Regions from separate parts of the Homo sapiens genome. Here region 2 is linked to region 1. Evidence: promoter capture Hi-C in 16 types of primary human blood cells and fetal thymus (Javierre and others, 2016). All regions are on one chromosome and are shown on one strand. Each heading gives the region's core, a stretch centred on a gene start or on the middle of the fragment in contact. The rest is flanking DNA. Distances are from core to core; before and after follow the strand shown.

The links. The method cuts DNA at HindIII sites, captures the fragments that hold promoters and counts their contacts. A CHiCAGO score of 5 or more calls a contact.
Region 2: a contact is called between a fragment that was not itself captured here and the fragment with the promoter of ITGA10 in region 1, in 8 of 17 cell types (non-activated CD4 T cells, neutrophils, naive B cells and 5 more). The highest score is 8.7, in non-activated CD4 T cells.

What each region holds. Positions count from the first base shown.
Region 1 is chr1:145,907,643-145,911,899 of GRCh38, reverse strand. It overlaps ITGA10 (integrin subunit alpha 10), which reads left to right and starts at 1,850. Exons shown (of 30, transcript NM_003637.5): 1 at 1,850-1,937. The coding sequence starts at 1,886. PEX11B (peroxisomal biogenesis factor 11 beta) reads left to right here. Exons shown (of 4, transcript NM_003846.3): 4 at 1-550. The HindIII fragment of the contact is 6,999 bases long and covers 1-4,257 here.
Region 2 is chr1:146,049,964-146,054,220 of GRCh38, reverse strand. It overlaps RNVU1-6 (RNA, variant U1 small nuclear 6), which reads left to right and starts at 1,977; the gene lies at 1,977-2,140. LINC01719 (long intergenic non-protein coding RNA 1719) reads right to left here and starts at 1,625. Exons shown (of 3, transcript NR_125968.1): 1 at 1,273-1,625. RefSeq lists enhancers at 1,307-2,038, 2,039-2,767 and a silencer at 1,888-2,127. The HindIII fragment of the contact is 874 bases long and covers 1,552-2,425 here.

The DNA of each region.
Region 1 (4,257 bases), core at 601-3,100:
TGTCTCTTAACTCTGTTTAAGGTTCTGTGTCTATGCATCTCTCTCTTTCTTTTTTCAACCTTCTCATTCTCCTATCCAGGGATTTAATCAGCAGAATTACTTTTTGATAGGGGAGGTATAAGGTTTGGCCTGTAAGGTTCTAACTGCCTTCTTTTTTCTCACAGAGGTGGCTTATGGCAGATTTTTCCTCCTTCAAACTCCAAACATAATTTTTAAGACTATGTGCCAGTGGACTCTTCCCTTATATCTCTGCACCACAAGTTGTTGGATGTTTCCTCTTCCTCCCTTATGTCTACCTCACCAACCTCGCTCATCATTTGGCCCTTATCCTTCCTTGTACACCTACCTTCAGATTTCTGCTTACACTTTGATTTCAGAGCTTTATTCCCCAGTCTGTTCTTACTCCTTTGTCGCTTATCCAGAATGATGCTATGTGTAGCATCTTGCTGTAAATCCTGTACAATGATTCTGTGTAAATAGCTGTGGCCTATGCCAATAATGAAGAGCAAGCCTTTCAGGTAAGCAAATTAAAGTTCAGTTTGCTCATCGACATTTGGTCTGGTCCCTCATTTTTTGGTAATTTGAGGCCCCTATTCCTGTCACTGTGGTTTGGGTTTTTCTCGGGATTAGCCACTAACATCACCCACATTATTTTTCTTGAGCACCTACAGTATGTAAAGCAACATACTTAGTGGGCATCCAAAAATCTAAGAAGCTCCACACTCCCAACTTTAAGAAGTTTATAACCTAGCTGAGGAGTTGGGGTGGCAGAGGAGTGGTCTAATACTAAAGTTATTGTCCTGGCTCCACAAAGCACATCTCATACCAGTTCAGATATAATCCCTCTAAGAAGCAGAATGCCATATGACAGCATAGGCTAAGAGCCAAGGACAGAACCAAGTGGAGTGGGGCTGGTAAGGATTTGGAGCTGTGTCTTCACAAGTTGAGACTCCCCTGGGTGGGTAGGGAAATGATACCACTGCTATCAGCTCTTTCATTTTCCATATTCCAGGTTGAGATAAATAAGGTTAGGAAGTGAATCTATCGGCCAGGCGTGGTGGCTCACGCCGGTAATCCCAGCACTTTGGGAGGCCGAGGCAGGTGGATCTCTTAAGGTCAGGAGTTCAAGACCAGCCTGGCCAACATGGTGAAACCCTGCCTCTACTAAAAATAAAAAATTAGCCAGGCATGGTGGCATGTGCCTGTAGTCCCAGCTACCTGGGAGGCTGAGGCATGAGAAATGCTTGAACGTGGGAGACAGAGGTTGCAGTGAGCCAAGATTGTGCCACTGCACTCCAGCCTGGGTGACAGAGTGAGACTCTGCCTTAAAAAAGAAAAAAAAAAATCTGAATCTATCTCCTATCTCCCAGCTGGGTGCAGTGGCTCACTTTGGGAGGCTGAGGTGGGAGGATTCCTTGAGTTCAGGAGTTCAAGACCAGCCTGGGTAACATAGTGAAACCCTGTCTGTATTCTCAATATAAATAATTTGTCTAAAACTTTTAAACAAAAGTTTAAGATTCTTTTCTTATAAAAAAGAATCCATCTCCCACTCCTGTTCCAAATTTGAGGAAAGCATTATTGACCTGGCAACAATAAACAGTAGAAAAAAAGAAATAGCAGAAATGGGCAAAAAAATATGTTCTCTGGATATAGAGATGAGGCCTCCAGGGGGCAGCACCAAGGCAGAGAAATAGACTAAGATCGCTCAGTGTTTTCCTTGGTCTGGGGCTCCCCACAGTTCCCCACCATCACTCCTCCCATTCCTTCCAACTTTATTTTTAGCTGCCATTGGGAGGGGGCAGGATGGGAGGGAAAGTGAAGAAAACAGAAAAGGAGAGGGACAGAGGCCAGAGGACTTCTCATACTGGACAGAAACCGATCAGGCATGGAACTCCCCTTCGTCACTCACCTGTTCTTGCCCCTGGTGTTCCTGACAGGTGAGGGAAGTTAACTTCTTGGTTTCTGGTGGGGATGGAAGATACATAGATTGTTTGGAATTGGGACCATTATAGTTAAAATTCTTTGGGATTTAGGTTAGGAAGCGAACACTGGTTGTACATTTCTTGTATGTGTGTCTGTGTCCTTGTGCATTTTTATGCCCTCACATATGACTGTTTGAATATTGAGACTGGCAGGGGCTAAAGCTGCCTAGGACCTTGTGTAAGATTTGTATCTAATAATTATATAATATATAATGTATAATTATATATTATATATAATATACATATAATATATAACAATTATATATTATATATAATATACATATAATATATAACATAATTATATATTATATATAATATACATATAATATGTAACATAATTATATATTATATATAATATACATATAATATATAACATAATTATATATTATATATAATATACATATAATATATAACATAATTATATATTATATATAATATACATATAATATATAACATAATTATATATTATATAGTTATATATTGTATATAATAATTATTATTATTTTTTAAAGATAGGGTCTCACTTTGTTGTCTAGGCTGGAGTGCAGTGGTGCAACCACAGCTCAGTAGTTGGGACTACTAGGTACGCGCCACCACGCACAGCTAATTTTTTTTTTTGAAACAGGGTCTCACTCTGTCATTCAAGCTGGAGTGCAGTGGCATGATCATGGCTCACTCTAGCCTCAACCTCCCAGGCTGAGGTGATCCTTCCACCTTAGCCTCCCGAGTAGCTGGGACTATAGGCGTGTGCTACCACGCCTGGCTAATTTTTTTTTTTTTAGAGACAGAGTTTTGCTATGTTGGCCAGGCTGGTCTTTAACTCCTGGACTCAAGCAATCCGCCCCCGACAGCCACCCAAAGTGCCGGGATTATAGGCATGAGCCACCATGCTTGGCTGAGATTTGTATCTAAATATATAAAATCTTCATCCTAAGCCCTATAGGGGTAAGGAGACAAAAAAGAAATGTGATGTGACCTTCCACGTGGCTAGTCTGATTCCTATTATCCCCTCCCTAACTTCTTACCCTTGGTGGTCCCTGGGGCCTGAGGCATAACTGACTAACTATGTGGTCAGAACTCTGGGTTTATCTAACCAATGAGCTGCAGTTTCTGGTCATACAGCCCTGCCAGTTTTCTGGATGCAAAACTGCTCACATACTAAACACCTTTCTGAAAATGAGCATGGTTTGGGATAAAGCTATAGCCATTGGTAATGGTGAGGGGGTAGCCTGAGAGGGGGTTGCTTAGAAGTACAGAGCAAGACATAGTTGGGGAAAGGACCATGGGAAGGACAAGAGGCCTGGAATTTTTCCTTGGCAGTGCCCTGTAATCATTGTTTCCTAAAATACCAGCTCTGATTTTAAAGGCATTGGGGTCAAAAGGGAAGATTAGCTAGGGTCGGGCACCTTTAGAATGGGCTGAAGGCTGAGGAAACCATGGAGGTAGGTAGGGGACCAGTTGGGAGAGTAGATTAGTTAAAAAGGAAGCAGGTTGTGGGAAACTTCAGGATGATGGGACCCTTGGAAAGGATGGATGGCAAACTATGTGTGTGGGCAGGCGAGTGGCCCCACCCAGTTAATTACCACTGAGATTTCCAAGGCTGGAATCAACCAGGGACCTAGACATTGGAAAAAGACAGTGAGAGTGTGACAATGACACTGGAAGTCAGGAAGAGATAGAGAAGGAGAGAGCCAGACATGCAGTGCTCCTTAGCTTCCTTTCATTCCCCCTATTTTGGGGAGAATTGGAAGCAATGGTTGTTCTGGGGATACAGAAAGGCCCTCTCCCTCTTTTGACCCTCACAGTTTGTTGAGGAGAGTGTGTGGAAGGAATGTTGTGGAAAAGAGTAGCCAGGCGCGGTGGCTCACGCCTGTAATCCCAGCACTTTGGGAGGCCGAGGCGGGCGGATCATGAGGTCAGGAGATCGAGACCATCCTGGCTAACACGGTGAAACTCCGTCTCTACTAAAAATAAGAAAAATTAGCCGGGCGAGGTGGCAGGCGCCTGTAGTGCCAGCTACACGGGAGGCTGAGGCAGGAGAATGGCGTGAACCCAGGGGGGCGGAGCCTGCAGTAAGCCGAGATCACGCCACTGCACTCCAGCCTGGGCGACAGAGAGACTCCGTCTCAAAAAAAAAAAAAAAAAAAAAAAAAAAAAAGTAACTTGACCTTTTCAGACATGTCTGTGAATGAAATTTCAGGGGTGGGAATGGAAATACAGCTGTACATCAGCATGGCAGAGGGCCACAGTTTAGGCATCTGGACACAAACACAGG
Region 2 (4,257 bases), core at 739-3,238, 140 kb before region 1:
GAGGATGAGCCAAAGCAGGGTGGGGTGTCGCCTCACCCGGGAAGTGCAAGGGGTTGGGGGATTTCTTTTTCCTAGCCAAGGGAAGCTGTGAGTGACTGTACCTCGAGAAGCAGTACACCCCTGCCCAAATACTGTGCTTTTTTCCACTGTCTTTGCAACCGACAGACCAGGAGATTCCCTCTTGTGCCTGGCTCGGCAGGTCCCATGCCCATGGAGCCTTGCCTGCTGCTAGCACAGCAGTCTGAGATCAACCTGTGACACTGGAGCATGGCAGGGGGAGGGGGTTCTGCCACTGCTGAGGCTTGAGTATGTGGTTCTATGGTCACAGTGTAAATAAAGTGGTAGGGAAGCTCGAACTGGGTAGAGCCCACTGCAGCTCAGCAAGGCCTACTGCCTCTAGATTCCACCTCTGGGGGCAGGGCATATCTGAATAAAAGGCAGCAGACAGCTTCTGCAGACTTAAACGTCCCTGCCTGACAGCAGGGACTGCTGTCATAATCATTATGATTATGAATCATAATCATGAAGACAATCTGTATTCCAGAATAGTAAGGGAACCTATTCCATCAGGGAGCCAACTGAAAACATCAAATCCCAGTTCACACCCCAGGGTGTGGTGTCATGCACCTGTAGTCCCAGCTACTTGGGAGGATTAGTAAGGAGGTTTGCTTGAATTCGTGAGGTCAAGGCAGAAGTAAACCCTGATCATGCCACTGTACTCCAACCTGGGCGACAGTGAGACCTTGTCTCAGAAACAAACAAACAAACAAAAAACCCCACAAAACCAAACAACAACAAATTGTCACCTCATTCTGAAATGACAGTGGCAAACATCACTTTGCTATTTGAAAATTAAAAGAAGCCGGGCGCGGTGGCTCACGCCTGTAATCCCAGCACTTTGGGAGGCCGAGGTGGGCGGATCACAAGGTCAGGAGATCGAGACCATCCTGGCTAACAGAGTGAAACCCCATCTCTACTAAAAATACAAAAAATTAGCCGGACGTGGTGGCAGGTGCCTGTAATCCCAGCTACTGGGGAGGCTGAGGCAGGAGAATGGCGTGAACCCGGGAGGCGGAGCTTGCAGTGAGCCGAGATAGCCCCACTGCACTCCAGCCTGAGCGAAGAGCGCGAGACTCCGTCTCAAAACAAAAAAAAAGAAAATTAAAAGAAAAACACTCCCTCTTGCTATCAACCTGCCCTCTTGCTCTAACTTGTCTGACCCATGGTTTAAAATGCCCAAAAGCTGATGTACTCAAATTATAGTACACTTACCTGTTCTGCACCAGCATTTACTTTTGTCTGGAGGAGATCACCATGCATGGTCCTATACATGTCTAATGGCATGGAATGATGAAGGGTAGTGTCTTTTAGGATAGTTGGATACATATATATATATATATATATATATATATATATATATATGCGGAATGCTACATCACAAGAATAAGAATGTGAAAAGAACCAGTTTCTTTTGTAATCCTAAACGTTCTAGTCTGAGAATTAAAAGCCATTGTTCGAAGAAGGGTGCCCAGGGTCCAGCTGGTCGCCGAAAGCTTGCTCCGCAATACAGGCTAAGGACCAGCTTCTTTGGAAGAGAACAGATGAGGGAAGCAGGAGAGAAAAAAGGGAGAGGCAGACGTCACTTCCCCTTGCCGGCTCCGGCAGCGGGTTGGTCGGCTGAGCGGCAGAAAGGCAGACGGGGACTGGGAAAGGCGCTGTCGGTGACATCACGGATAGGGCGACTTCTATGTAGATGAGCCAGCGCAGGGGCTGCTGCTTCGCCACATGCTGCTTCGCCACGAAGGAGTTCCCGTGCCGTGGGAGCGGGTTCAGGACCGCTGGTCGGACCTGAGAGTCCCAGCTGTGTGTCAGGGCTAGGAGGGCTGGGGGGGAGGGGGGTGTGCGCGGGGCAAGTGACCGTGCGTGTAAAGGGTGAAGCGTGTGAGGCTGCCGGCGGGGCGGAGGTGCAATAACTCATACTTACCTGGCAGGAGAGATACCCTGGTCACGAAGGTGGTTTTTCCAGAGCGAGTCTTATCCATTGCACTCCGGATCTGCTGACCCCTGCAGTTTCCCCAAATGTGGGAAACTTGACTGTATAATTTGTGGCAGTGGTAGACTGCATTCGCGCTTTCCCCTGTATTTTTGTCGTTTTAAAAATAGGTTTTGTTTGCTGCAGAAACGCATACTGGGCGTCAGCGTAAGCTGAGAATCAGGTCTTTGTTCCCATCTGTAACTTCACTGAAACTAAAAATTTGGGACATCGTGGTTCTCACGTTTGTAATCCCAGCAATCTATGAGGTACGTCGATAGGTTATGTTTATGTTAATATCGCTCGACCTCAGGCGTGTGTGGGCAAATATAGTGAACCCGTCTCTACTAATCTCTTATCTTTTTTTGTTGTTGTTCTATAGAAATAAAACTAAGCTTTTCTTTTCCCTATGGGATTAACAGCAAACAGTCCGCTGGAGTGTATGGCGCGATCTCGCCTTACTGCAACCTTTGCCTCCTGCGTTCAAGCTATTCTCCTTCCTCAACCAGAGAATACTCAGCCTCCCGAGTAACTGGCATTACAGGCTCAGGCAACCAAAAAATTAGGTCCGGCTAATTTTTTGAATTTTTAGTAGAGACATGGTTTCACCGGGCCGGGCGCACTGGCTCGCGCCTGTAATCCCAGCACTTTGGGAGGCGGAAGCGGGTGGATCATGAGGTCAGGAGGTCAAGACCATCCTGGCTAACACAGTGAAACCCCATCTCTAATAAAAATACAAAAAAAAAAAATTAGCCGGGTGTGGTGGCACGTGCCTGTAGTCCCAGCTACTCAGGAGGCTGAGGCAAGAGAATCGCTTGAACCCGGGAGGCAGAGGTTGCAGTGAGCTGAGATCGCACCACTGCACTCCAGCCTGGGCGACAGAGTGAGACTCCGTCTCAAAAAAAAAAAAAAAAAAAAAGAGTGACAGGGTTTCACCATGTTGGCCACCCTGGTCTTGAACTCCTGACCTCAAGTTTTCCGCCTGCCTCGCGGCCTCCCAAAATGTTGGGATTACAGGCCTGAGCCACCGCACCTGGCCTGTTTACAGACTTTACAGACACATTTTGTTTACAAGCTTTACAGGTACAGTTCAATTGCGATTAGTGTATATTATGTTTGGCCCAAGACAAGTGTCTTTTTTTTTTTTCCAGTGTGGCCCAAGGAAGCCAAAATTTAGACAACCCTGCTCTAGAGGGTTTGATTCATGGTTCCACTGGGTTATGCTTATTGCCTATAATTCCATTTGATATTTTCCAAATTTGATTTTTTAAAAAGCGTTTTCCTGAAGCACCCTAAAGCTTTCCTAATAATATGAGAACTTAAACCAGATTGGATGTGACAAAACCCTGCTGGAATCCTGCAACTTCTAACCTTAATGTTAGATCAAGAAGCAAAACACCCACCAGTCCAAGGGTCAGGGAAGCTGAAGATCATGCCTGAGCTGTAACAACGCCCTTCCCAGTATACAAAAGAGTGTAACAGCCACTCGAATTCTATCTTCCAAGTGTCTCCTGTTGCCCAGGCTAACCTAGAGCTATCTAAAGATGGCAAATCTGGGAAATGTGCATTCAGCTTGGCAAAACTGATACATTACAAATCCACCACAGTCCACTTCTTCTCAAAGTGGCATCAATGTACATCTTCCTCCTCTTCTTTTTTTCCTCCTCTTCCTCTTCTTTTGCTTCTTCCTCCTCCTTTTTCCTCCTTGTAAAATCATACTTAAGGTTCAAATAAAGACAATATGAAAATCATACTTTTTCTCATTCAGTGAAAATATGCCAACCCTTTCCCCAACAGGATAAAGTCTTTGTCTTTGAATGATGTTCACTCCTTTTTTAGCTAGATAGATCACATTCCATATTTGCTTTCCTGTAACCTAAATATTGAGATTTCTAAAAGTTAATTATTAATGAATGTGCTAGCTAGGGTGATGGAAGAGGAGAATTCTCAAGAAAAGTTTTGGTTAATATACACCCAAATGTATTCATCTCAAAATAATGAAGAAATACTCATAACTATTACAAGTCCTGATTTCTGCAACTGGCACTGGCACTAGCTGGTATTTGTAACTATCTTCACATCTTGTACCCACAGCCAGTTCCTTTGGGCCTGGGCCGGTGGACGTGAGCGTGGGAAGGACAAGAACCCGCGGTGCCCCCCACCGCACTATCCTCGGGTCTCCAGAGGTGGGATCCACCGGGCAGGGGCCTTTGCTGGATTCTAAA